Regions from separate parts of the Homo sapiens genome. Here regions 1, 2 and 3 are each linked to region 4. The links are contacts of gene promoters, found by promoter capture Hi-C in blood cells and fetal thymus (Javierre and others, 2016). All regions are on one chromosome and are shown on one strand. Each heading gives the region's core, a stretch centred on a gene start or on the middle of the fragment in contact. The rest is flanking DNA. Distances are from core to core; before and after follow the strand shown.

Region 1 (7,041 bases), core at 3,343-5,842, 520 kb after region 4:
GCGTTATGCTTTTTAAAATCATGATTTCACTTTTTTTCAACATAGAAAAGTTCCTGGACTTTTCTAAAAGCAGTGTGCTGTCACCATTAGGATTATGTTGCTGGCCCAGCACAGTGGCTCATGCCTATAATCCCAGCACTTTGGGAAGCTGAGGTAGGTGAATCACTTGAGGCCAGGAGTTCGAGACCAGCCTGGCCAGCATGATGAAACCCTGTCTCTACTAAAAATACAAAAACTAGCCAGGCGTGGTGGTGGGCGCCTGTAATCCCAGCTACATGGGAGGCTGAGGAAGGAGAATCGCTTGAACCCAGGAGGCAGAGGTTGCAGCGAGCCAAGATCACACCACTACACTCTAGCCTAGGTGACAGAGTGAGACTCTGTCTCAAAAAAAAAAAAAAAAAAAAAGAGGATTATGTTGCTGTGTGTGACAGCAAACCTCACCCCACTAAAAAAAAAAAAAAATAATAATAATAATAATAATAGTAGCTAAAGCAAGAGAGGTAGGTGGTCAAGAGCTGGTGTCATACACTGTAGGGTCCTGGGCTTATTCTTGCTTGTTGCTCCATCATCCTCAGCATGTGGCTCCATCATCCTCAGCATGTGGCATCCCCTTTATTGAGGTCCAGCCAGCATGTCTATGTTCCAGCTAAAGAGAAAATGGCAAAGTCAAAGAAGGGCACACCTCCTCCACTGAAGGACTCTAAATGCTTCCGGTCACAGATAGTAATTTGCTATCATTAATAATTTGCTATTGGGAGGCCGAGGTGGGTGGATCACTTCAGGTTGGAAGTTCAAGACCAGTCTGGCCAACATGGTGAAACCCCATCTCTGCTAAAAATACAAAAAAAATTAGCTGAGCCTGGTGGTGTGCACCTGTAATCCCAGCTACTCAGGAGGCTGAGACAGGAGAATTGCTTGAACCCAGGAGGCAGAGGTTGCAGTGAGCCAAGATCATGCCACTGCACTCCAGCCTGGGCAACAGAGCAAGACTCCATCTCAAAAAAGAAAAAAAAATTCTATCATTTTATTGCCAGGACTGGTTGCACGGCCACACCTGACTTCAAAGGAGGCTGGGAAATGTAATCTTTAATCTATAAGAATAAGGGGCTCAGAATCAGGGGCTTTATTACTAAAGAAAAAGGGAGACCAGAGAAAGAGGAACAACTAGCAGTGCTCACCCTGCCCATGTTTATGGTGGGCATTATGACTGCCCTCCTCTAGTTCCAATTCTTCTCCCCTTCCCAGACACTTGGAAAGCTCCATTATCATCCCCCTTGCAGGAGGCAGCTCTGCTATACTAGCTCTGGCAAATAAGCCAGAGAGATGGGTGTCACTTCTGGGTCACAGCATGTAAGAGCCCATTGCAGCTCTCCACATTCTTTTCCCGCCTGTGGAAGTGTGTGGAAGAGGGAGGCGCCAGAAGGCCAAAGCAGCATGACCTACCACATAGAGGACAGCAGCCCTGGAGGGCCCTACAGAGGACTTCCAGTCCTACAGAGGGTCCTATTGTCCTACAGAGAACTTCATGTGATAGAGAAATACACTTTTCAATGTTAAACCACCAAAATTTGGTTTCATTTGTTACTGCAGCACAGCCTACCCTGTCTTGTGTGATACAATATTCCTAATAAAATCTTCAGTGTAGAAAATTGTAAATCAGGCTAGGCATGGTAGCTCACACCTGTAATCCCAGCACTTTGGGAGGCCAACATGGGAGAATTGCTTGAGCCCAGGAGTTTGAAACCAGCTTGACAATGTAGTAAGACCCTGTCTCAAAACAAAGAAAAAGAAAATTATATGGGGAAAGGATTCCCTATTTAATAAATGGTGCTGGGAAAACTGGCTAGCCATATGTAGAAAGCTGAAACTGGATCCCTTCCTTACACCTTATACAAAAATTAATTCAAGATGGATTAAAGACTTACATGTTAGACCTAAAACCATAAAAACCCTAGAAGAAAACCTAAGCAATACCATTCAGGATATAGGCATGGGCAAGGACTTCATGTCTAAAACACCAAAAGCAATGGCAACAAAAGACAAAATTGACAAATGGGATCTAATTAAACTAAAGAGCTTCTGCACAGCAAAAGAAACTACCATCAGAGTGAACAGGCAACCTACAAAATGGGAGAAAATTTTCGCAACCTACTCATCTGACAAAGGGCTAATATCCAGAATCTACAATTAACTCAAACAAATTTACAAGAAAAAAACAAACAACCCCATCAAAAAGTGGGCGAAGGATATGAACAGACACTTCTCAAAAGAAGACATTTATGCAGCCAAAAAACACATGAAAAAATGCTCATCATCACTGGCCATCAGAGAAATGCAAATCAAAACCACAATGAGATACCATCTCACACCAGTTAGAATGGCAATCATTAAAAAGTCAGGAAACAACAGGTGCTGGAGAGGATGTGGAGAAATAGGAACACTTTTACACTGTTGGTGGGACTGTACACTAGTTCAACCATTGTGGAAATCGGTGTGGTGATTCCTCAGGGATCTGGGACTAGAAATACCATTTGACCCAGCCATCCCATTACCGGGTATATACCCAAAGGATTATAAATCATGCTGCTATAAAGACACATGCACACGTATGTTTATTGTGGCACTATTCACAATAGCAAAGACTTGGAACCAACCCAAATGTCCAACAACGATAGACTGGATTAAGAAAATGTGGCATATATACACCATGGAATACTATGCAGCCATAAAAAATGATGAGTTCATGTCCTTTGTAGGGACATGGATGAAACTGGAAACCATCATTCTCTGCAAACTATTGCAAGGACAAAAAACCAAACACTGCATGTTCTCACTCATAGGTGGGAATTGAACAATGAGAGCACATGGACACAGGAAGGGGAACATCACACTCTGGGGACTGTTGTGGGGTGCGGGGAGGAGGGAGGGATAGCATTAGGAGATATACCTAATGCTAAATGACGAGTTAATGGGTGCAGCATACCAACATGGCACATGTATACATATGTAACAAACCTGCACATTGTGCACATGTACCCTAAAACTTAAAATATAATAATAAAATTTTAAAAAAAAGAAAATTATAAATCATAAAGTTAAACATCTATTTAATCTGCTTCCCCCACTTTATTTTTGTATAAGTATGCATACATTTTTCTTTTTATATATAAGCTCATACTATATAGTCTATTCTATAAATCACTTTTTTCATTGTGTATCATCTCTGTATCAATGTTATCTATTTTTTTAACTGCATGGCACGTTACGTATGATTCACCGCAATTTGTTTAAATAATCACCTACTAGTGGACAGTTTATTTCTTATTTTTATATGAAAATAGAAATCAGGTTTGTGTGTATTTGTATCTTTGCACACTTGTCCAATAATTTCCTTAGAATTGATTCTTAAACACAAGCTTACTTGGTTAAAATCTATATCTTAATTATACATGTTACCAATTTGCTGTCCAGAAAACATAATGATTTATATTCCCTTTAACAATATATGAGTATTCATTTCCTACATCCTCAATGCTGGATGTAATAAAACTTTTTAAATGTTTAGGTATCCTTAACATCCAAACAATGAGTTTCTTTGATTAGTAGTAATATAGAGATGATTTCTAAATAAATTTGTCATCTTCATTTCCTCCTTGAGCATTTTTAACTTATATTTTTTGCTTATTTTCCTAGATTACCATTCATCTTTTGCTTTATCTAATAAGGATATTAACCTTCTATATGCTATGTATATTTAAATTTTGTTTTTGCTTTAATAGTGTCGGGGTGTTTTTTGAACTGTGAACAGTTTTTTTCAGTCCTGCTCCTTCTGTATATTTTTAATTTTTTAAACATTCAAATCTGTTTATCTCATAACTGTGTAATTTCTGGCCCTGAATTTTGGCTAGGAAACCTTTTAATATCCATGGTTTATAACAATCTTTGTCTAGTCTTGAAAAACTGCTTATTAATTTTAAAATTAATAAGGCATGCCGGCTCATGCCTGTAATCCCAGCACCTTGGGAGGCTGAGGCAGGAGGTTCACTTGAGTCCAGGAGTTCAAGACCAGCCTGGCCAACATGGTGAAACCCCGTCTCTACTAAAAATGCAAAAGTTAGCCTGGGGGTGCATACCTGTTATGCCAGCTACTCAGGAGGCTGAGGTGCGATAATCACTTGGACCCAGGATGTGGAGATTGCAGTGAGCTGAGATTATGCCACTGCACTCCAGCCTGCATAACAGAACAAGACTCTGTCCCCAAAAAACTTTTTAAATGACATATATTAAATGTTAGTCCTCTAGTATATTCCTGATCCATCTTTATTCAATCCCCTAATTCAATTTCCAGCTAAAATGGAGTACTTTTTTCACATAGGTCACATGGTTTTCTTGCCTTCTCAAAGTCAGGGAAAACAGGAAAAAAATTACTTAAAAAAGTAATGACATTGCAGGTTTGTAGATCAATATTTGTAGCCATAAAAGATGTGGGTTTTTTCTTTTTTAGAAAAAAGGAGAAAAGAATATGGCCAAGTTCAAAAAGAAAACAGAAAAAAAAAATGCCCAAGACATAAGGAAGAAAAGTGAAATTGTTACTCTCTTGGTGTTTATCAGGCCCCTCACCTGACCAGCTGGCATGACCTCCTCTCCAGCCACATGTGCCTGGAGCACAGCCAGCCCCAACCTTGTCCCCTAGGCCACCCCATCAGTAGACTCCCCAACAAAGGAAGAGCAAACCTAACACCAACTTGGTTTATACCTAGTCTTCTTTTCTCTTATCATAGGGAGGGAATGGGGTTGAGGTGGACATGAGGCATCAGACAATTTTGAGATTAGAATTGTTTCCTGTCTAGGGTCAGAGCCCAGAAGAATAGACACAAGAAACCTAAATCCCCAAGCAGGATTCAGACTTTCAGTTCCAAACTGGATTAGATTTGGAGTCATAGAGTGTTCAGAACTACCTCAGTCAACCCATGCTTGCTTGCATGCCTGCATGCATGTGTCTACTCCAGTGCACAAACTGTGTTACTTGCAGAATAAGAAACAAAAAAGCTGCATTTTTCTGGTTCCTCTGCTTCATCCCACTTTTCTTTTTCTCCTCTGTATTCTCTCCCTCTTCCCTTTCTGTTCCTTTCTTTTTCCCTTTTTCTTTTTTTAATTTATTTTGTAAATTTTTTGTATAGACCAGGTCTTGCTATGTTGTCCAGGCTGGTCTTGAAATCCTGGCCTCAAGTGATCCTCTTGCCCTAGCCTCCCAAAGTTCTCGGATACAGGTGTGAGCCCCTGCACCTGGCCCCTTTTTCTTTATTCTTTTACTCAAAATTATTCACAAAGGGCCTAAGATATGCCGGTCAGTGGGGATTCTCTTGGATTCTGTACCTTTATGGGAGCCAGCCTGGGAAGAGATCTTGTCCCAGCTCCCAAACATGAATTAGGACATGAGGCTCACTGCTTTGGAAAGCCCTCTAATTTTTCTGCTTGTTCCCAGCATGCCTCAATCTTGGGGTTTGGCCTAGAAGGAAAGTCATATCTGCCTGCTTGCACTTCCCCTCCCTGGCCTCTTCTTCCTAGTTCCCCACCCCACTGCCTCCCTAGGCTGGAGGAAACATACTCTCTGTCATTTGCTGAGTGTTCACTACCAATGACTTATAGGAAAACTTGACATTCAGACCTCCAAAGTTTTCTTTTGATAGGTACAGGTAATTTTTGGAATTTATAAATTCCTCTTTGCTCCCAACAAATACTGTGCTTCAAGATTTTGTCTAAGCTTGCCAAAATGGCCCCAACTGAGCAGTGGCTTCTCAATTCTAGCAAGCATCTGCCCTCCCCCTGAAACCTATTGATGTAATAGTCAGGGAAATCTTTACTATTTGCAAGGATGAAAAATACATGATTCCTCAGCAGAAACCTTACAAGCTGGAAGGGATTGGAGTCTTATCTTTAGTCTCCTTAAACAGAATAACTCTCAGCCAAGAATTTTGTATCTGGCAAAGCTAAGTTTTATGAATGAAGGAGAAATAAAGTCATTTTTAGACAAACAAATGCTGAGGGAATTTGTCACTACCAGACCAGCTTTATAAGAAATGCCAAAAGGAGTTCTAACTCTTGAAACGAAAGATTGATATGCACCAGAATACAAACTCTTGAAAGCATAAAACTCACAAGGTCTATAAAACAATAACACAATGAAGAAAACAACGTATGTAGGTAACAATTAACATGATGACTGAAACAGTACCTCACATCTTGATATTAATGTTCAACATAAATGGGCCTAAATGCTCCACTTAAAAGATACAGATTGGCAGAATGGATACAAAATCACAAACCAAATATCTGCTATCTTCAAGAGACTCACTTAACACACAAGGACCCATATAAATTCAAGGTATAAGGGTGAAAAAAGATATTCCATGCAAATGGAAACCAAAAGTAAACAGGAGTAGCTTTTCTCATATCAGATAAAACAGACTTTAAAGCAACAACAGTAAAAAAAGGCAAAGAAGGTCATTATATAATGATAAAAGGATCAATCTAACAGGAAGATATTACAGTCCTAAATTTAGATGTAGCTAACACTGGAGCTCCCAGATTCATAAGACATTTACTACTAGACCTAAGAAAAGAGATAAGACAACAACACAATAATAGTGGGGAACTTCAGTATTCCACTGTCAGCACCAGAGAGATCATTGAGACAGAAAGTCAAAAAAGAAACAATAGATGTAAACTACACTCTAGAACAAATGGACCTAATAGATATTTACAGAAGATTACATTCTTCTCATCAGCACATGGAACATTCTCCAAGATAGACCATATGATAGCCACAAAACAAGTCTCAATAAATTTTTATAAATTGAAATTATAGTTTGATGGGAATAACATTGAATCTATAAATTACTTTGGGCAGTATGGCCATTTCCAAGATATTGATTCTTCTTATCCATGAAGATGGAATGTTTTTCCATTTGTGTCCTCTCTTATTTCCTTGAGGAGTGGTTTGTAGTTCTCCTTGAAGAGGTCCTTCCCATCCTCTGTTAG
Region 2 (7,513 bases), core at 3,274-5,773, 700 kb after region 4:
ATTTCAGGATTTTTTTCTTTATTATTTTACTTAGAGACAAGACCTTGCTCTGTTGCCCAGGCTGGAGTGCAGTAGCATGATCATAGCTCACTGCAACCTTGAACTCTTAGGCTCAAACAATCCTCCTGCCTCAGCTCCATGGTATGTGGGACTGCAGGCATGCACCACCACACCCAGCTAATTTTTAACTTTTTTTTCTTTAAGAGACAGGGTCTTGTTATACTACCCAGGCTTTTTTTTTTTTTTTTTTCTATTTCTGTGAAGAATGTCCTTGGGAATTTTGATAGGCACTGTATTAAATCTGCATATTTCTTTAGGTAATACAGACATTTGAACAATATTAAATTTTCCCATCCATGAATATATGTATTTATTTGTGTCTTCTTTGATTTCTTTCATCAGTTTTATAGTTTTCAGTGTATCAATCCTTCATGTCCTTGACTAAATTTGTTCCCAGATATTTTAAGTTTGTTTTTTCTTTTTTTTTTTTTTTGACAGTCTTGCTCTGTCACCCAGGCTGGTGTGCAGTGGTACAATCTTGACTCACTGCAACCTCTGCCTCCTGGGTTCAAGCAATTCTCCTGCCTCAGCCTCCTGAGTAGCTGGGATTACAGGCGCCTGCCACCACACCCTGCAATTTTTTTGTATTTTTAGCAGAGATAGGGTTTCACCATGTTGGTCTTGAACTCCTGACCTCGGGTGATCCACCCACCTCGGCCTCCCAAAGTACTGGAATTACAGGCATGAGCCACCGCACCTGGCCAGATATTTTAGTTTGTGATGCTGTCGTAAATGTGACTGGTTTCTTGAATTCTTTTTCAGCTAGAAAAAGAATTGTGTATAGATATGCTACTGATTTTTTTGTATGTTGATTTTGTATCCTGCAACTTTACTGACTTCATTTATTAGTTACAGTTTTTTGTCAAATCTTTGGGGTTTTCTACCTATAGAATCATGTCATCTGCAAATAGAGATAATTTTACTTCTTCCTTTTCAACTTGGATGTTTTTCTTTCTTTTTCTTGTCTGATTGCTCTTGCTAGCAAGCACTTGCAGTACTATGTTGAATAGAAGTGGTGAATGTGAGCATCCCTGCCTTGTACTGGATCTTAGTGGAAAAAGTTTTCAGTTTTTCCTTGTTGGTTATGTTGTTAGCTGTGAGGTCTTTGTAAACTGCCTTTATTATGTTGAGGAACTTTCCTTCTATACATAGTTAAGTTTTCATTAAGAAAGGATACTGAACTTTGTCAAATGTTTGTCAATTAAGATAATTATGTATTTTCTCTTTCATTCTGTTAAGATAATGTATCACACTGATTGATTTGTGTATGTCAAACCTGCTTTGCATGCCAGAGATAAATCTCACTTTGTCTTGATGTACAATCTTTTTGTGTTGTTGAATTCAGTTTTCTAATATTTTATGAAGGATTTTCGCATCAATGCTCATCAGAGATGCTGGCCTGAAGTTTTCTTTTCTTGTCTTGTGTTTTTGTCTGGCTTTGGTATCAAGATGATGCTGGTCTCATAAAATATGTTTGGAAGTATTCCCTCTAGCTCTATTATTCGGAAGTCTTTAAGAAGTATTGGTGACAATTCTTCTTTGTATGTTTGTAGAAATCAACCACGAAAGCCATCTGGTCCTGAGATTTTCTTCACTGGAAGGTTTTTAATTGCTTCTTCAATCTCTTCACTTGTTATTCTGTTCAAGCTTTCTATTTCTCATCAATTCAATCTTGGTGGGTTATACTTTTCTAGGAACTTATCCATTTCTTCTAGGTTATACAATTTGTTGGCATATAATTATTCATAATAGTCCCTTATGATTCCTTTTATTTCTGAGGCATCTGTTGGAATGGCTCCACTTTCATCTCTGATTTTATTTGAGTCTTCTTTTTTCCTTAGTTTAGCTAGGGGTTTGCTGATTTTGTTTATTTTTTCGAAGAACTAACTCTTGGTTTTATTGAGTTTTTCCTATGGTTTTTCTGTTCTCTATTTGATTTTTTCTGTTCGAATCTTTATTTCCTTCCTTCTGCTAACTTTGGATTTAGTTTGTTCTTCTACTGGCTCCTTGAGATGTAATGTTAGGCTATTTATTTAGGGTATTTCTTTTTCCTTTTTTTTTTTTTTTGAAACAGTCTTACTCTGTTGCCCAGCCTGGAGTGCAGGGGTGTGATCACAGCTCACTAGAGCTTCGACCTCTGGGCTCAAGCGATCCTCTCACCTCAGCCTCCCAAGTAGCTGGGACCACAGGCCTGTGCCACCATGCTGGGCTGATCTTTTTATTTTTTGTAGAGACAGGGTCTCCTTATATTGCCCAGGCTGGTCTTGAACTCCTGGGCTCAAAGGATCCTCCCGTTTCAGCTTCCCAAAGTGCCATGATTAGAGGAATGAGCCACTGCACCTGGCCTGGGGTCTTTCTTCTTTTTTAATATAGGCATTTATTGCTATAAACTTCCCTCTTAGATTGCTTTTGATATTGTGTTTCCATTGTCATTTGTCTCAAGATATTTTTTATCACTTGATGTTTTTAACATGACATCAAAGACATCCATTTCAAGTTGAAACCAACTACTCACAATTGAAAAGCTTGGATACGCTCTCACAGTATATTAATACAAACTGAAGATAGAGGTCATTATACTAAAACTCAGAGCAAAAAACTGTGATGAACTTTTCTGTTTTTAGTAAGGTTGTTTTATATTATTCTTCGGTATTTCAGGAGTCAGTTTGGGGTAATAAATAAAGACTGATAACCATTATATACACAAGCAGCTCACAAAACAATGACAAGTGGTACCTGGTGCATTGTCCTTACCCCTGCTTGCAGTCCCTCCCCACATGATCACCTCAGCCTTAGTTCTGGGGCCTACTCAGTAGAAGAAAACATTTTAGGCCGGGCACGGTGGCTCATGCCTGTAATCCCAGCACTTTGGGAGGCCAAGGTGGGTGGATGACGAGGTAAGGAGTTTGAGACCAGCCTGGCCAACATGGTGAAACTCTGTCTCTATTAAAAATACAAAAATTAGCCCGGTATGGTGGCACATGTCTGTAATCCCAGCTACTTGGGAGGCTGAGGCAGGAGAATTGCTTGAACCCAGGAGGCAGAGATTGCAGTGAGCCGAGATTGTACCATTGCACTCCAGCCTGGGCGACAGCAGCAAGATTCTGTCTCAAAAAAAAAAAAGAATGAAAAAATTTTGGATTCTATATTGCTGAGGCTTAATGCATACATATGCCAACCTGTTTGGGAAAAAAGTAGTAGTAGAACTTGACATTAAGTAAAATATGTTTATTATTTAGTTATAAATTAAAAATATGTATTTTCTATTGTTAATAGATTGTTCTTATACCACTAAATATATAAACCATTGGAAATTTTCAGTATTGTATAATTACAATGGTAAATGAGAACAGAGTAGAAACACAGTTGATTGAAAAGATGAAAAAGGACAAGATTATAAAATGCTGTAAGGCTGGGCAGCGTGGCTCACACCTGTAATTCCAGCACTTTGGGAGGCTGAGGCGGGCAGGTCACGTGAGGTCAAGAGTTCGAGACCAGCCTGGCCAACATGGTGAAACCCTGTTTTTACTAAAAATACAAAAATTAGCAGGGCATTGTGGCAGGCTCCTATAATCCCAGCTACTCGGGAAACTGAGGCAGGAGAATCACTTGAACCCAGGAGGTGGAGGGTTCCATGAACTGAGATTGCACCATTGCACTCCAGCCTGGGTGAAAAGAGCAAAACTCTGCCTCAAAAAAAAAAAAAAAAAAAAATTGTGTGGCATTTCACTCTGAAATGTTAAGACATAAAGCAGATTTATCCATCCACATGAAAGCAGAAATAGAAATGAAAGCTGTTAATAGAAGCAGAAAGTCAAGACCATCGCTGCCTATTACCATGTTATGGGATCGTCACATGGAACCTCACATGGAAAATGAGATGGGGGAGGGAGGGACAAAGTGTTTCAACCACTGAGGATGCTGGGGAGACACAGGATGTTCACTTGATGATATTGTTCCTATTTTGGCAAAAACAATTGTAATCAAGTAATAAGGCACTCAGATTATTATGGCAAGTAAGTATTAAAATAATTTAATAATCTGTATTATTTTAGCTATTATTTAACAATAGTTAACATATTAATGGCTCTTTTTTTATTTACTTTAGCATTTATTTTTATAACATTTTTATATGTAATATTATTATATACTACATATAAGTATATATCGTAAGTATAATATATATGTGAGTAGGTATATACATAGTGTTTTCAAATTGCCATATTTATGTTCTTATTGATTGAAGCTGAATCAACTATTGCGCATGTCCATAAGCTTTCAGAATCTGTTTGTTGATAAAATACTACACATGAAGCTTTAATCATCTTGCACTGATGTTACCAATAAGTTACAGTTACATATTTATGAAGTTATGTTGACATACGTAATTGTGGTTGTGTCTGCATCCTCACGATAAAACCTACGTTCTGTCATTGAAAATTAGGCCATGAGTGAAGTCTGGGAGCTCAGGGAGAGCCAAGGCAGCTAGAGCTCTGCAGAGCACGTGCCTTCTTGCTCTCAGCTGCCTGCTGGTTACCTTTACCTGTACCTGCCCTAGCAAACTCTCCTAAGTGGAGAATGAGGCCTGGGTCTCTTGACAATTAAAGCTTTGCTCTGTTCTTGGACTAAATCCAGACATAACCACGTCAGGCTCCTCATCTGCTGGGAAGCAGATTGCACTGGATTTCACAGTCACGGAAAACTTTTGACTGTGTGTACCTCCAGCAATGAGAAGCAGAGAGGGCTAGGTTGACGGTCTCAAACTGGCACCGGGGAGCCCCGTGACTGGGTTTTAAGGGTGTGTGAATGAAGATTAAAATCTTGTTTGATATTAACATGGGTTCAGTTTTTTTTTTTAATGTCACTAAGCCATGCTGTAGAGCCCTTCTGGAAGGACTTAGGTGGGACAAAGAGCCAGAGTCCACAACTTCTGTATTGTTCACAGGGCCCTAGTGCATCCTGGGAAGTTTCTCTGGCACCGGAGGTGAGTTTTCCTAGGTAGGAAAGTGAAGGTTGCAGGAAAGAAGAAATTATAAGGCTATATTATAATGTGATGTGGAAGTAGAAAGCTACTTTGCTCTGTAACCTAAAAGGAGTCATTAGATTATTTGCTGCTATGAGTTCATTTTCTAGGGGTACTTAATAATCATGAAAGTGCAGGGAGAAAAACATTTTTAAGTAAGCCTTCTCAGTGAAGTGACCTTTCTCCCCAGGACTGTATTCTTTTTACCCCTCTGCCATGTTAACAGCATGCAAACCATATTTACATTTTTACTTAGTTAACTCATAGTCTGTTTTCTTAAATATCCTTGTTAAAAGTGGTAGCTGTTCACATTCCTTTGGGGAACAGCATTTCTCTAAGAAATGTTTATAGGTTTTAGCCAGACATAGTGGCTCATGCCTGTAATCCCAGCACTTTGGAAGCCAGAGCAGGTAGATCACTTGAGGTCAGGAGTTCAAGACCAGCCTGGCCTACATGGCGAAACTCCACCTCTACTAAAAAGAAAATACAAAAAAAAAAAAAAAAAGAAAAGAAAAGAAATGTTTATAGGTTTATTTAACAATGTGAAGTAGTCCTGGGAAGTTGTACTTTGAGCAAGGTCCGCAAGCAGGATGCCTGCACTTCTCCAGTCATGCTCCAGCACCAGGTCGGAAGCTGTCTACATGCGGGGATGGACCCTGGCATCCTGGGCTCACAAGGATAGGGCCCTGAATATGGACTTAGCAGAACAAAGTTGGGAAGGCAGCTGCACCCACCCTGAGTGCCTCCCGTGGTACGTGCCCTTCACAGTTCCTGGTGGGGACACTCAGCCACCAGCTTCATGGCTGGACGCAGACGACACAATGCCAGGAAAAAATTCAAAAGCCCCATTACCCTTTCTAATGCCTAGATAAAATAGATGTCTAATAAAAACCTGCTAATAATCATTTATTGTTTGTTTATATACAATAGAAACCTCTTTTATAATGGGTGTGGGATAAGGATGATGATGGCCTATGGGGCTCCCTGTCTTACAGCCCTTGTCCTCGGGCCATGATTTGACCTCAGAATGACGGTGACTCTAGCAAGGCACTGGGGAGCCAGACTCTGCTGCATTTGTGTGCAAATCCCCTACGAGTTTCAAATGGCTCCACGCATCAACAAAACCTCTTAGTTCTTAAGAAAAGGAGACAGAAGAGATTTGGACACTGAAGAGAAACACAGCCATGCCTGAGCTCCCTGCTGGTAGGAAAATGTGTGCCTAAGGTTGCTTTTCTCTCAGGTTTCCATATTTTTGTTTCCTCTTGCGGAGCTGCCGCTGGAGCTGGAGCTTGTTGGTGAAGAACAGCTGTCTCCAGCCTGTGTCCTCCGCCAGGGCCCTCACGTCAGGAGTGATGGTGTCGCAGGTCGACTGGACTATCTGTTCCCACAGTTTATCAGACATGCACAGCTGTGGGTGGGAAAAGTCAGAGGTGGGTTACAGCACACATGTGTTAACTCATTATCAAACTCTTGCTGCCTGTGGGACACTGGAGAAACACTACCTGTGCCAGACACAGGTCCTGCCTTGAGAAACCTCCTCTTTGAGGAAAACAGCCAGACACAAATATGTAAGTGCACATATATCTAAAGGACATACCCTTCTGCACACACTTAAACTTCCCAGTGACGGCAGTAGAAAGAACATCCTCCTACCAACACCAGGCAACACAACACTCCCTCGTGCAAGGGAAAATGTGTTATTCTCCACCTTCACCCCCACCCCACTGCGGCCAAGTCCCATCAGTCACTGTCAACATCTGGATGAAGTTTGTTGCCTCTAGTTAATTCCAATTCATCTCTATTTATCTATGTATGTATTTATTTATTTTTATTTTTATTTTTGAGATGGAGTTTTGCTCTTGTTGCCCAGGCTGGAGTGCAATGGCGCAATCTCGGCTTACTGCAATCTCTGCCTCCTGGGTTCAAGTGATTCTCCTGCCTCAGCCTCCCAAGTAGCTGGGATTACAGGCATGCGCCACCACACTGAGCTAATTTTGTATTTTTAGTAGAGACAGGGTTTCTCCATGTTGGTCAGGCTGGTCTTGAGCTCCCGACCTCAGGTGATCTGCCCACCTTGGCCTCCCAAAGTGCTGGGATTACAGGCGTGAGCCACTGTGCCCAGCCTTATCTATTTTTTTATCTATCTATTTATTTTTTTTAGACAGAGTCTCACTCTGTTGCCCAGGCTGGAGTGCAGGGGTGCGATCTCGGCTCACTGCAACCTCCGCCTACTGGGTTCAAGTGATTCTGCTGCTTCAGCCTTCCAAGTAGCTAGTACTACAGGTGCACACCACCATGCCTGGCTAATTTTTGTATTTTTTTTTATAGAGACAGGTTTTCGCCACGTTGATCAGGCTGGTCTCGAAGTCCTGACCTTGTAATCTGCCTGCCTCAGCCTCCCAGAGTGCTGGGATTACAGGCGTGAGCCAC
Region 3 (7,566 bases), core at 184-2,683, 550 kb after region 4:
CATCTGACACACTGTTCTGAAACAGAGTCTGTTGGATGTGGAGTTAAGGTTTTGACTCACTAAATGCTCTGCCCTAGGGGATAAAGTGGAAATGTCCTTATTTCGCAAGGGCAACAGCGAGGTTTCCAGCCTTCAGGCCCAGCAGTGGTTCTCCAGCTTCCACAACCCAGACCTTAAGCACTGTGGTTGCAGCATTCAGACCCCGGGCCACAACTGTGCCCAGCTATCAAGGCCGGGATTGAGGGGAGCTGACTCAGCTGCCCCCATGACTTGGTTCAGAATTGACTCACGGGCCTATGAAAGTGCTCTGGGGGTACCTGTCAAAGCTTGGTCTTGGCCAGTGAAAGATAAGCATTCAAGTTAATGGGCATATGTTAGTACTCACCAGCAGGAAAAAACTAGAGGCTTCAGTGCATCCTAGGATCCTGGGGGAAGAATTGTCATGTCCTCCTAAGAAGGCAGAATTGGTCCAAACAAGGGACAGTGAGGAGGGCAGGGTAAACAAGCCACTCCTTGCCACCTACAAGTGCCAATTTGCCCTAAATTTTCCCAGACAGAGCCCACAGGTCAGATTTTGATGTTTCTGTATCTGGACCATGACCCAGTTTGTATTCATAGCCAATCCCTAATCTCATCATCATCTCAGTTTCCAGTTCCTCAAAGAAGTTTACCCTTGAACCCCTAGGCCTGGTTCTGGCTCTGTGGAGGGCTCAGGCAGAGCAGAATGCATACAGAGGCTTTCCCATTCTCCCAGGATGGGCACAGGACCTAGCCCTGAGAGCAGCAGGCACCCTGGACTTCTACAAAAGTGTGCCATAGGCCAGGCACGGTGGCTCAAGCCTGTAATCTCAGCACTTTGGGAGGAGGCGGGTGGATCACTTGAGGCTAGGAGTTCAAGACCAGCCTGGCCAAGATGGTGAAACTCTACTAAGAATACAGAAATTAGCCCAGTGTGGTGGTGTACACCTGTAATCCCAGCTACTTGGGAGGCTGAGGCAAGGGAATCGCTTGAGCCTGTGGCGGGGTGGCGGAGGTTGCAGTGAGCCGAGATTGCACCACTGCACTCCTGCCTGGGCGACAGGAGACTCTGTCCACCCTCTCCCTACCCCACAAAAAAAAAAAAAAAAAAAAAAGTGTAGCATGCTGTTCAACCACCAGAGGGCACTGTGGGCCCCTCCAGAGACGGAAAGGAATTGAGCTATTAAAGCTCCTGCAAGGACAAGGAACTAGCAGAAAGAAGTAGTGAAGGCTTTGAAGGGGAGGAAGATGCTCTCAGTGGCTCCTATTTCATGCAGATGGAGGAAAACCAACCAAGAGCATGCGCCAGGTCCTCTCCAGATGAGACTGGCAAAGACGAAGCAGCAGGCAGTCACGTTTAGGCACATGCTTGCGAGGATTTCCTTACTGTGACAAAAGGTCCCTTCTGTTGTTTGTCACAAGTGCAAAACCTCACAGCTAGCATAATGAAACAACTGAGATGCACTCAGTAACGTGGGCTGGAAAAGGATCCCCAGTTTTTCGTTTCATAGATTGGAATCTGGTAGGAGGCCCGCCTGGGGATGGCCGGCAGCAGGCAGAGACCTGGATTCTAGATCCTCCCATTTGCAAGAATGTCCCAGGTGACCTCCTCTCGGGGATGCTAGAGGATGAGGACAGGGTGAAGAAGCCAGCCTACTGGGGGAAGGGGGGTCTTTGGGACCAATCAAGAGTGCTTAGAGAGGGGTCCTCTGAGATATCTGGACACTGACCGCTTCCCAATGAATTGCCTATGGCCCGCTGCTTCAGAATCACAGGGAGCTTGCCTAAAATGCAGATTCTGGGATGTTGGCTCTGGGTGGGAATCTCTAGGATTCAGGCCCAGGAATCTGTGTTTTTAACCAGTTGAACAAGTTTTCTAGGTGATTTTTGTTTGTTTGTTTTGTTTTGTTTTGCCACAATTAGGTTTGAGATCCACTGCCCTACGACTGGTCCTTTATCTGACTTAAACATTTGACAAAGGAGCAAATCTAACTAAGGTATCTGTGGTGTGGGCAGCAGTAGAGCCTGCAACTTAATCACAAGAGCTGTCCTTGTCCTGTGAGGTGACAACCGAGAGTTTATTGTTTGGTTGATTGCTTGGTTTGTTTAATTGTAATGTTTTGTAGTTTAATTGTTTATTTATTAACAGCTTTCAGAAACAGTAATAAGAATAGAATGTGAAGCCAACTGCAGAAGAAAAAACTAAACTGAGAAGGGAACTAAATAAAAAAGCAGCTGGGCAGATGAGATTTGGGGGTGCAGGGAGCAAGCATGTGGATGGAGGGAGGAGATTAATATTGAGCCATGGTCATGAGAACTTCAGAGAGAGATGGATGAGTGGAGGTGGCCCACACGGTATTCTCTTTTAGTGTTAAAGTCTCACCAATGCACCACGACGTAGCAGTCTCTCGTTGTGACGTATTACCTGGAGTTCTTTGTCTCATGACCCAGAGAATTAAGGAGTGTGGACACAAAAGGTGAGATTGGAGCAAAAGTTTTCTAAGCAAAAGAAGAAAGCTTTCTGCCATGGAGAGGGGGCCCAGAAGAGGGTTGCTGTCTTTACAGTTGAATGCAAAGGCTTTTATAAGAAACTGATGAGGGCTGGGCATCTCATTTGCATAAGACACAAATTTCTGTTAGCTCCACCCCATCCTCCAAGTGTGCATGTGGGCCCTTAGCTTAGTGACTCCATATTGCTTTGTTCCCCTTACTGTACATGTGTTACGGGACAGAACTTTCCACTGCAGGCGTGTCTGGGTGAGTCACCTGTGTAGCTTTTCTTATCTATGTGGCTGTGGGCGTGTCTTAGGCAAGCCCCTCTGTGCAAGTTGGCTGTTCTTTTGTTTGAAAGAATTTAACTGAGGGCCCACCCTAACTGCCTGCCTGACTGGCTTCTTCCTTTCTCCTCTCTCGGTAGGTCATGGATTGGCTCCTGCTTTGACACCGCCTTGAGGGACTTAAGATGTTGGCATGATTTTTGAAGCTTTTTATTGGATATTGGGTTGATATTATATTTGAACATGAAGTCACCCTGAGGTGTGCTGTCAGGTGGCCCCATTGTATTTGGATACAGGCAGCTGTGAAATGCAGGGGAGCAGTTAAGAATATTAACAGGTCCCCAGTTGAAATGCTTTAATGGCAGTGGTACATGGCCTGTTCCTACCCCACCCAACACACGTCACAACCCCAACCCCTACCCCCAAAGCCTATTCTCAATATGGCAGCCAGACTTAGCCTGTTAAGATGAGTCCAATCCTACCTACTCCACCTTCAGGGTGAGAGCACCCCCTCTGAGGCCTGTATGAGGGGCTTCTCCCCTCCCTCGTAGGTCTGCTGCACCCACTGGCCTCCCTGGAACCCAGGCCACTCCTGCCTCAAGGCCTTTACACCAGCAATCCCCTGGGTCTGGAGCTTCCTCCCCCTGGAAGTCCCCACAGTTCACCCTCACATCTTTAATGTTTTTGCTCAAATGTCCCTGGGGGAGCCTGCTCCAACCACCCCTAATGCTGCAACCTCCCACACCTGGCTCTCCTGCTCCCTCTCACGTGTGTCCTTTCTTCCCCCAAAATATCCCATTTATCATGTTCTAACACGCAACATGATTTGTTTATTGTGTTTGGTGTCTGTCTCTTGTCACTATCATGTAAGCTCCACAGGGACAAAATTTTTTATCTCTTTTGTTTGTTGGTATATCCCTACCGTCAAACTCATCAGCGCTTAATACAGATTTGTAGAATGAATGGATGAATGAATGAATGCCTCTAGGCTCCCAGTCAGTCTGAGCAGGCTGGTTTGCAGGTCCGGAGCTTCTCCGAGCAGCATCTCCCGACTCCTGGTCCCCATTGGGTCACTGGAATCTCACTCCCCATGCACCAGGCCACGTCTTGATGTTTGATGGGCTGGGCTCCCGCTCTGGTTCTGCCCCAGGACTCCCTTCTGCATCCTGCCCCGTGGTGTCCTTGCCTATGCCCCTCTCATCGGTGCCACTGCCCTCCCGAATGCAGCCTGGGCGTCTCTGCTGTGAGCTCCCGTCACTGGGCTCTGCCCTCTGTGGACACACTGTGCCACTTCCCCTTCTATGTCACTGACCTGGACCCAGTCTGAAGGTTGCCCTCCTGTTAAAGAAACCCAGGACCTGACAGTAGGTAAAGTAGGAAAAGCACATTTTATTCAGGAAGTATTGCAAAGGGGGAAAGAGGCCTCAGTGCATATAGAACGGACTCAGTGGTTAATTCAACCAGAACGAGTGGGGATTTATAGCCATGGAGCAGGCTGGCAGTCGGGATGGAGGAAATTACTAAGAGAAAGCAGCAGGGGGAAGGAAAGCTTCTGGTTAAACAGGCTTAGGATTCTTGCTGAAGGCAGGCCAGGGTGGTCAGATGCGAAGGATGGGGGCCTCTCTCCACACTGACTTAGGAGGGACTTGCTAAAACTGGCTGATGCAGGCCCAACGATGACAGGCACAGAAGCCCAGGGTTGAGGCCCCGTTGAAAGAGAGCTTCGAGGAGCCTGACTTAAGTGCGGCCTCAGAGCGAGTCTTTGTCCTGGGAAGCGGGACCTTTTGCTGGCAAGCCAAGCGCCTGCCCTAGCTTGACCAGGGTGCGGAGCCCGCCCTCCCCTGCTGCTGTGCCTTGAGAATCAGGCAGATCCAGAACAGGACCAGGCCAGAAAATCCTGCGGCTGTGGGACGTGGGCAGGATGAGGCCTTGCTGTGAATGTCCCTGAGAAAAATGTGCCTCCCTCCCTTTCTAAAAAGGTTTCCTGCCGTGAAAATGACACCCAGGAAAATAGAACAGGAGAAGACCAGTCTCGGGAACCACACCTCCGGGAGCTCCTCTCAGCCCCTAGCCAGCGGCCCCTCTAGGCCCACAGTCCCTCCTGGACTGGAGCTGGGGTCGTTGTTCTCTCAAGGAAGCAGTGAGGAGTGTGGACAGGCCCAGGGAAGAAATGCCTGACTCTGTGCTTCGTGGGGAAGGCGGGGAAGACAGCAGGGATTGGAGCTGAGAACCAGAGGCCAGAGGACGCCCTGAGACAGGACTTCCTGAAAGAAGCCCTGGGACCCCCACTGCCAAGGGTCCAGGTGAGGAGGGGAGATGGGGTGGGGGCTGGGGCTTTCAAAGGATCAAGTTTTCACCACCCAGACTTTTTGGGATTCAGGAGGGGGGTGTTGGAGTGAACACTGGGCTTCAGCTTCTGTCCTAAAATACCTAAAATCAAAATAAACCCAGCCAGGCGTGGTGGCTCACACCTCTAATCCCAGCACTTTGGGAGGCCAAGGAGGGAGGATTGCTTGAGCCCAGGAGTTCAAGACCAGACTGGGCAAGATAGTGAGACCGCCCCCCACCCCCGCACCCCCATCTCTTCTACAAAAAAATAAAAATAAAAATTTGCTGGGTGTGGTGGCGCACGCCTGTAGTCCCAGCTACTCAGGAGGCTGAGGTAGGAGGATTGTTTGAGCCAGGAGGTCAAGGCTACAGTGGACCAAGATCACCCCACTGCACTCCAGCCTGGGTGGCAAAAGGGAGACCCTATCTCCAAAAAAAAAAACCTTACCCTGAAAATTTAATTTCCTTCTAACACATCATCCTGATCCCCAGGAGAGATTCATCATCCTTCTACTTGACTTTCTTCTGTTGAACTATCTAACCTGGTCTATTTCAACAAATACTATTTCTTGACAACCACTAACCTGGCTTGGGCTTTATTAGGCTAAAGAAATGCCTGCCTCCAGAATTAGATTCTATAAAGTTTTCTTTTGCAGACAGATAGTGGAAGTGCCCAAATTAATCATTTTAATTTCTCAGAAGGGAAGAAAAAATGCCATTTGATCCAACCACATAGGCAAAGTGCCTCGCACACAGTAGCTACTCGGTAAAGCTGAGTCACGGCTGTGGTTGGGACCAGGGAGGGTACCCTTCCCTTCACATGCAGTGTCCTGGGTTTCTCCCTCCTGACCCTTCTCATCAGGAGTCCCTGGAACTGAGGTCCCACGAGGCTTCAGGTGCCACAGCACGGGTGGCAGCTTCTGTCATGCCAGCCACAATCAGTGACCCCAGATAAGGTTGGCAGGGTGATCCCAAAGAGAACGGTGACTTCAGCCCCAGCACAGGGAGGCCGATGGCTGGGGACTGGGGGAAACTCCTGTGGACGGGGTTCCTGAGAATGGCCTGGAAAGAAAAAGCTAAAAAGGTGGAAGTCAGACAGAACACAGCTCATGCCACTTCAAATAGGAATTTGCCCACATCTAGGCCAGGCCCTGTCGCCTCTTGTCTCTCTCAGCAGTATTGGTGCCTGAAGGGATCCATTAAGGGATCCAGTGTGAAATTTTCTGGCTTGGCTCATAGACCGTCCTGTCTTTGGAATCAAAGAGCAGACACAGATCAATGCATAAGGTGAGGAGTCTTGAATTCTTAACTATTTCTTTCCTTAGTGAAAGAGAGTTGCACTGGCTAAGTGTACTGAGTTTAAAGCCTCTTGTTCCTTCTGCAAAATCTGCAGGCACAGCAGCCTGAGGCATCTGCCCCTAAGCCAGGGTCAGAGCTGGGGGCAGCAACAGGGGCTGGGGACCCGAGACAGCCCCTTGGGTTTCCCTTGCAGGTGCCAAGAACCAGCAAGTCTCCTGGGGATTGAGTGCCTTGTGGGGCACTTGGGCCTGTCCCATTGTCCTCCTCCAAGGAAACTTTTGGGGCACTCTGGCTCTCCAGGGCTGGGGACGGCTCTGCCCCATGTCACCAAGGCCCTCTGCAGGGTGTGGGTGTGGACACAGCTAGTAGCACGAGCCGTGGTCGGTCTGCAGTTCCACCTTTGCAGCTTTGCCCTTCCCTGTCTGCCAATCTGATCCCAATCCTGTCTGTGCCCATCCCAACCCCCTATACCTGAATTACATCAGCCTAGAATTCACCTGCTACTTCCATTCCTGCCTTCAAATTCTGACCTTTACCTGTCTGGCCAAGGAGTTTTGTCCCTCCTCGATGTGCTGTTGTTTAAATGCTCCCAAGGAAATGCCTACCCCAACCCCCAAAACAGGATCAGGGACCAGGGTTTTTTTTTTTTTGCTGCTTCCTTCTACCTTCACCTTCAGTGTTGCAGAGCACCCATAGCCCGCTGAACCAGGGGTTCCGTGCCATCTGCAATGCTGTGTATGTGCAAGAGGTGAGGCAGAGAACAGGGAAGCATACGTTCCCACTCCTAAAAATTCCCAGAGAAAAATACTTTCTGTGAGTGTCAAAACATGATGGGACTGTTCATGAAATCAGTCCGTGAAGTCAGCTGTGATCATGATGAAACATGAGCCATGGTTCTGTGGGTTCTGAAGCTATACAAATCACAAATTCTTCATCATGATAGAAACTGAAAACCTAACTTGTTCAACATATGTTTCTTGAATTGGATATCCAGACGCAAAAAAAAAAAAAAAAAAAAAAAAAGGAGGAGAAAGAAAAAATCTCAATCATAATCCAAGAATCTGATACCATATACAAAAATTAATTTAAAATGGATCATAGACCTAAATGTAAAACTGTAAAGCTCCTAGAAGAAACAGGAGAG
Region 4 (6,727 bases), core at 1,786-4,285:
ATACAAAAATTAGCCGGATGTGATGGTACGAGCCTGTGGTCCCGTCTACAGGAGGCTGAGGTGAGAGGATGGCTTGAGCCCAGGAGGTTGAGGTTGCAGTGAGCCATGTTCGCACCACTGCACTCCGGCCTGAGCGACCGAGTGAGAACCTGTCTCAAAAAACAAAACAAAACCAAAAAGGCAAATACCACCCATTTGTTATAGTAGCAAACCATTTCATGAAATATTCTATGCTTATATCCAGCCTGAGTCTTCGTGATGTCATGTTCAAAAAATAGTTAACCTATATGGATGGCCCTAGTGTAGAGACTATTTTTCAGGAGCGAAGTGGGGAGTGGGAAGGGACACTGCATCGCCGTCTGTGGGGGATGGTATACCAGCCATGACAGTAATCTTTTGACAACATCCCTTTAAAAGTCCATTCACTCCTATAGCAGAGATCTGTGTGCTTTCTTCCTCTTCCACACCTCATGACAACACACATCCTGCCAAGAAAAACTTTATTCAACAAGCAAGAGGATCCAAGTCTTACAGAGAAAGAAACATACTTCAAACAAGAAACTTTCAGAAAAAGTTCTGTCCACACTAGTAGTTATTAAGCCTAACTACTGCATTTCATCTGAGGTAAATAATACAACCTTGTCAGGAAAACATAACATGCTTAGAAGACTTCCATTGTTGAGTAAAAATTTTTTATATGAAGATATTTAATGACAAGAAAAGCTTAATAAGAGATGTGTGTGTGTATACATATGCATACAATATATTTCATTATGCAAAGAAAAAATACACAGAAAAAGACTGGAAAGAAAATACGCAAAAATGTTAGCAGTAACCAAATCTAAGTGGTAAGATTATAGAAAATGTTTTAAAGATTTTCTAGCACTCCCTGAATTTTGGAAGCTTTGACAAAGATCATGTATTATTTTGAAAAGCAGAAAATTTTTAAACTGCAAAAAGGTGGCATTCACTTGTCATACACGCAAACAAGTGCAAGCTTACAAAACTTAGGCCCTAAGCTGCTTTCACAGATCGTATATTCTAGATTTCGAATACAGCTGCTAATTACTTCCTAACAATTTGAACAAACTACAAAATAAAGCTAAACACTTTCACTTCTGGCTCTACTATAAAGATTTCATAATAAAATAAAATATAAAAACAAAGTTTTACCTTTCTGTAAAAGGTCTACGTCTGGCTTTCTACAGCAGAATATTACTAACCATTTTTTAAAAATCATCAATTTATGTTATTTTACACAAATGCCACCTCAAAGAATGTAGGTTTAGCTTAGTAATTCCAAAGTACATACGCCTAATACAAAGTGCAAGAAGTTTTTATGCACTGTAGCGAACGCACAAATAGAAACACCTTCTGTGTGCAGATGAGCTTATTTTATAGACACCTTTCCATTACCTCTTAAGAGCCTGATATCTAATGAAGCTTTCTGCAAAGGTACTTTGCTTAGCCTGGGCATGGATTTACTTGATTATCTGGGAAGCTGTCAAAATCGATCTGAAACTGCATTACATTCAAGGCACAGAATGTCAACTCCTGACTGGGCCTCCTCCTCTCTCCTTTCACAAGAGCGCCTTTAATATCCCCTAGCCTACATTTCCGGGCTCATGAGTCACTGAGAAATGAGCTCTAAGTTTCTCTTAGAATGCTGCTCAAATAGCTCCTCTACAGCATTCAAGGATCTGGCCCCAAAATACCTCTTTAGCCCAATACCCCCCGCCCCCTGCACCATGCCAACAAACGGAATTATCCATGATTTCTAGGCTTTGTCTTCTCGCTTTTGCTACCCCTTCCACACACCTCTTCTGCAATCCTCCTCTCCTAAATCCCATCAGGCCTTCAAGACTCTGCTCAGCATCCCCCGCCCAGGAAGCCTTCCAGGTTTCTGCGAGGCAGAAGTGATCGGTTCGGTTTTTCCGGGTGCCGTTCTAGCACTCCGTCGTTCTTTCACAGGACTTATCACCTCCTTCCCGGTATCGCAGTTATTTGTGTTCTCGTCTTATCTCTCACACCAGAGCCTAAGCTCCTCGGGGGAGGGGACCGGGGCCCGCTTCACCTTTGAATCCCTCCGGTGCGGGCCGACTACGGCGCCTGCACGCAGTCTGCGCTTGGGGTGGTTCCATTGAACTCCAGAACGCTCCGACCGCCCAATTCCTAACCAGAAATCAGTTAGGCATTTTCCTGAATTGGTCACAAAGCTGGTATCTGCCTCCCGACAACAGGAAGTTTACCAGGGGCGGGAGCGAGGCGCTGAAGCCCGGGTGCAGCCGGTGACAGTTGACCCGGCCCGCACTTCCCCGCCCGCCCGACTCCGGCCCGGACCACCACGCGCCGCCAGCCCCGCCAGAGAACCACGGGGGGAGAGGCAGGAGCGCCTGGACTGCAGGCCCCCGGGCGCCCCACGCCGGCGAAGGCAAAGGGAGCGTCTCAGCGAGGGACCGGAGCCGAGCCGGGCGGAGAGGGCAGGCTGGGCCCGGCTGCTCCCGGGGGCTCCGGGGACAAGCTGGGCCGGGGCCGCCGCCACCCAGGAAAATGGAGGCAGCCCCGGGGCCGGTGAGGGCCCAGCGGGGCAGGCGGAAGCCGGGCAGGCGTCCGCACCACGAGCAGGGCCGGCCGGGGGTCACTCACGGGGCTGGGCCGGGCGTTCCCTTCTCTGCCTCCGCGTCGTCGCTGTCCCCGTCCTCGGCCGCCGCCGCTTCGGGCTGCTCGTTCGGTCCCCGCGGAGTGGCTCGGACGCTCGGCCCCTCCGTTGTCTTCCGCCCGCTCCTGCTCCCGGCGACGGGCTCCCGCGGCGGCGGCGGCTGCGCGGGCGGACGGCTGCCCAGGGGCTCCCGCGGCTGCCGCCGCGCTGCTGCGCTCGCTTGGGCTGCGGCTGCTGCTGTGGGGCCCGGCGCCGCCTTAGTCTTCGCCTGTGCCCCCGCCCCGGCGCCTGAAGGCTCTGTGTCTCCCAGGCCGCGCCGCTCCCCGAACCCCTCGCCCCGCTTGCGGCCCGAGCCCGGCTTTGACGTGCGCACTGCGCAGCCGCCGAGGACGCGACGTCGGGCGGTGCCGCAACGCCCCCTTCCGCCTCGGGCGCCCCCGAGCGGCCGGCGGACTCAGGGCGCCGCAAGTAGGCGCGAGGCCCGAGCGGGAGGGGCCGCAGAGAAAAGCAGAAGCCAAGCCCCGCAGTTCCTCTTCCTCCGCCGCAGCTTCCAAGGCGGGGCTCAGCCCTTTCTCCTCCGCCTGAGCGCTCTTACTGCGGGAATCGCACGCCCACTTTCAACGACCACTTCCTCAACTCTTCAAGCTTAATTCTGCGAGAGGCCGGGATCCCACTTTGTGCAGACCGATTCTTACTTTCTTGGAGCAGATCGCTTCATTTTAGCATCCAGGGGGACACAGCATCCAGGGGGACAAGTGCCAGAACGTTCCAGATTAATGGGAATATTCCTATTTAAATCAGCAACCTGGATTTAAGTCCTGCTCCACCATTTGCTATCTATGGGCTGTTTCACGTCCCTGTGCCTGGATTTCCTCACACATTAAAAAAAAAAGTGTGTAATAATATAGTGGTACCAGCCACGGGCTTCTGAGGATGAACGGGACAGTGCATTGCAAAGCTCTGACAACGGAGCCTGGCACATACAAATGCCATATGTGTGTATTTTTGTTTCTTTGTTTTTAATGTGTAACTGAACTACTTTTTAAGCGCCTCCTGTACGTCAGGGATGGGGCAGTGAGCGAAACAGTCCATGCTCCTAGCACAAACAGTTGACAAATAATTGACTAATAAACCTACAGGTATGTATAATACTGGACAATTGGGCCAGGCGCGGTGGCTCACGCCTGTAATCCCAGCACTTTGGGAGGCCGAGGTGGGCGGATCACGAGGTCAGGAGTTCAAGACCAGCCTGGCCAACACCGTGAAACCCCATCTCTACTAAAAATACAAAAAACAATTAGCCGGGCGTGGTGGCGGGCGTCTGTATTCCCAGGTACTTAGGAGGCTGAGGCAGGAGAATCGCTTGAACCCGGGAGGCGGAGGTTACAGTGAGCCGAGATCGCGCCACTGCACTCCAGCCTGGGCGACGCAGCGAGACTATCTCCAAAAAACAAAAACAAAACAAACAAAAAACAACAACAAAAAAACAAATACTGGACAGTTAAAAACACCACTGGGTGAGGAGGGGAGAGAAAGCAGGGTGTTGTTATTTACAGTGTTCATTCAGGGAGCAGCTTCCTGGAGAGAGAGAGCCTGGGAGCTTTCTGTATGGAAAGGCAGAGGGAATAGCAGGACCAAGGCCCTGAGGCGAGAATCTGCTGGCTTGAAAGCGGCCCCAGATAGGGGAAGAGATGAGGAAGAAGTGCGGCCCTACCAACCAAAGTTAGGACTTCCTGTTTTTACTCTCAAGGAGATGGGAAGCAATTTGAAGGGTTGCGAGCAGAGAAAGGACGTGGAATGACATTTCAGGAGGATCCCTGTGGCTGTGGTATGAGGACCAGACTGAAAGCCCTGAGGGTTTCAGCAGGGGGACCAGCGAGAAGCCTGTTGAAATCAGCCAGCCAAAAGATAAGACTGTCCGGCCGGGCGTGGTGGCTCGCACCTGTAACCCCAGCACTTTGGAAGGCCGAAGCAGGGGGATCACCTGAGGTCAGGAGTTCGAGACCAGTCTGACCAGTATGTTGAAACCCCGTCTCTACTACAAATACAAAAATAACCCCAGCTACTTGGGAGGCTGAGGCTGGAGAATTGCTTGAACCCGGGAGGCGGAGGTTGCAGTGAGCCGAAATCGCGCCACTGCACTCCAGCCTGGGCGATAGAGGGAGACTCCATCTCAAAAAAAAAAAAAAAAAAAAAAAAAGATAAGGCTCTGTCCAGGGTGGTGGCAGTAGAAGAGTAAAATGATCACCTGTAGACACGTTTAAAAGGTGGCTCACGCCTGGAATCCCAACACTTTGGGAGTCCAAGGTGGGAGGATCATTTGAGGTCAGTTCGAGATCACCATGCCCAACATGGTGAAACCCTGTCTCTACTAAAAACACAAAAATTAGCTGGGCATGGTGGCGGGCACCTGTAATCCCAGCTATTCGGGAGGCTGAGACAGGAGAATCGCTTGAACCCGGGAGGCAAAGGTTGCAGTAAGGGGAGATTGCAATGAGCCAAGATTGTGCCACTGCACTCCAGCCTGGGCAATAGAGCAGTACTCAGTCTCAATAATAATAATAATAATAAAAGGTGGCTCACGCTTGTAATCCCACCACTTTGGGAGGCAGAGGAGGAAGGATCACTTGAGGCCAGGAGTTGGAGACCAGTCTGGGCAACATAGTGAGACTCCTGTCTCTAGAAAAAAAAATTAGCCAGGCGTGGTAGCATGTGCCTGTAGTCCCAGCTACTCCAGAGGCTGAGGTGGGAGGATCACTTAAGCCTGGAGAGTCGGGGCTACGGTGAGCTGTGACTGTGCCACTGTCACTCCAGCCTGGGCCACAGAGTGAGACCCTGACTCAAGAAAAAAAATAAATAAATAAAGGGTAAAGCTAAAAGGATTTTCCTGATTTCTAATTTTTTTTTTTCTCAAGCAACTGGAAAATACAATTTGGTGATATGGGGAAAATTTAAGCAGAAACAGATGTGAAGGGAGGAACTTGGAAATTTACTTAGGGACATACAAAGTTTGAGCTGCCTGTTGGACACCCAAGTTGGAAGTTGGACTTAAGAGTTCAGAGGAGAAGTCCTGGCGCGGTGGCTCACGCCTGTAATCCTAGCACTTTGGGAGGCTGAGGCAGGCGGATCACCTGTGGTCAGGAGTTGGAGACCAGCCTGACTAACATGGTGAAACCCCGTCTCTAATAAAAATACAAAAATTAGCCGGGTGTGGTGGCGTGCGCCAGTGGTCCGAGCTACTCTGGAGACTGAGGCAGGAGAATTGCTTGAACCTGGGAGGCAGAGGTTGCATTGAGCTGAGATTGCGCCACTGCACTCCAGTCTGGGTGACAGAGCGAGACTCGGCTCAAAAAAAAAAAAAAAAAAAAAAAAAGAAGACTTCAGAGGAGAAGTCTGGGCCACAGACAGAATTTAGGTGGTTCTCAGAGTAGGTAAAACCTCTGAATTCAGTGAGATCCTTTAGGATGTGAGTGTTACTACTAAGCCCAGTCCCCCAACAATGACAGGTCAGGGAATGGTAAGGAACCAGCAAAGAACCCTGAGAGGGAGGAGCCAGTTTGGTAGGAAGAGATCCAGGAAAATCTGGCCAGGTGAGGGGGCTCATGCCTATAATCCTGGCACCTTGAGAGGCAGAGGCAGGTGGATCACTTGAGGCCAGGAGGTCGAAACTAGTCTGGCCAACATGGTGAAACCCCATCTCTACCAAAAATACAAAAATTAGCAGGGCGTGGTGTTGCATGGCTGTAATCCCAGCTATTCCGGAGAGTGAGGCAGGAGAATTGCTTGAACCCAGGAGATGGAGGTTTCAGTGAGCTGAGATCACACCACTGCCGTCCAGCCTGGGTGACAGAGGGAGACTATGTTAAAAAAAAAAAAAAGAAAGAGAAGGAAAGAAGATCTCAGGTGATCCACTCAGGTGATCTCTACTAAATACAAAAAATTAGCCAGGCGTGGTGGCACATGCCTATAATCCCAGCTACTTGGGAGGCTGAGGCAGGAGAATCGCTTGAACCTGGGAGTTGGAAGTTGCAGTGAGCCGAGATTGTGCCGTTGCACTCCAGCCTGGGC

Evidence for each region. The method cuts DNA at HindIII sites, captures the fragments that hold promoters and counts their contacts. A CHiCAGO score of 5 or more calls a contact.
Region 1: a fragment that was not itself captured here is called in contact with the fragment with the promoter of CAB39 in region 4 in 7 of 17 cell types (total B cells, naive B cells, non-activated CD4 T cells and 4 more); the score reaches 10.7 in total B cells.
Region 2: a contact is called between a fragment that was not itself captured here and the fragment with the promoter of CAB39 in region 4, in 2 of 17 cell types (naive B cells and total CD4 T cells). The highest score is 6.2, in naive B cells.
Region 3: a contact is called between a fragment that was not itself captured here and the fragment with the promoter of CAB39 in region 4, in 1 of 17 cell types (neutrophils). The highest score is 5.3, in neutrophils.

Annotation. Positions count from the first base shown.
Region 1 is chr2:230,192,570-230,199,610 of GRCh38, reverse strand. The region is part of intron 10 of SP110 (SP110 nuclear body protein); the gene reads left to right. It also overlaps a transcript of SP140 not described here. Among named protein-coding and RNA genes, the nearest start is that of SP110, 24 kb to the left of the region's middle. The HindIII fragment of the contact is 2,348 bases long and covers 3,419-5,766 here.
Region 2 is chr2:230,009,674-230,017,186 of GRCh38, reverse strand. FBXO36 (F-box protein 36) reads right to left here. Exons shown (of 4, transcript NM_174899.5): 4 at 4,068-6,491. The coding sequence ends at 6,303. Among named protein-coding and RNA genes, the nearest start is that of SLC16A14, 55 kb to the left of the region's middle. The HindIII fragment of the contact is 292 bases long and covers 4,378-4,669 here.
Region 3 is chr2:230,153,941-230,161,506 of GRCh38, reverse strand. No RefSeq gene overlaps it. Among named protein-coding and RNA genes, the nearest start is that of SP110, 62 kb to the left of the region's middle. RefSeq lists a silencer at 1,112-1,181. The HindIII fragment of the contact is 2,209 bases long and covers 329-2,537 here.
Region 4 is chr2:230,709,150-230,715,876 of GRCh38, reverse strand. It overlaps CAB39 (calcium binding protein 39), which reads right to left and starts at 3,035. Exons shown (of 9, transcript NM_016289.4): 1 at 2,647-3,035. LOC124907996 (formin-like protein 16) reads left to right here and starts at 2,551. Exons shown (of 4, transcript XM_047446832.1): 1 at 2,551-3,798. The coding sequence starts at 2,551. The coding sequence ends at 3,309. RefSeq lists a silencer at 2,324-3,263. The HindIII fragment of the contact is 1,861 bases long and covers 1,446-3,306 here.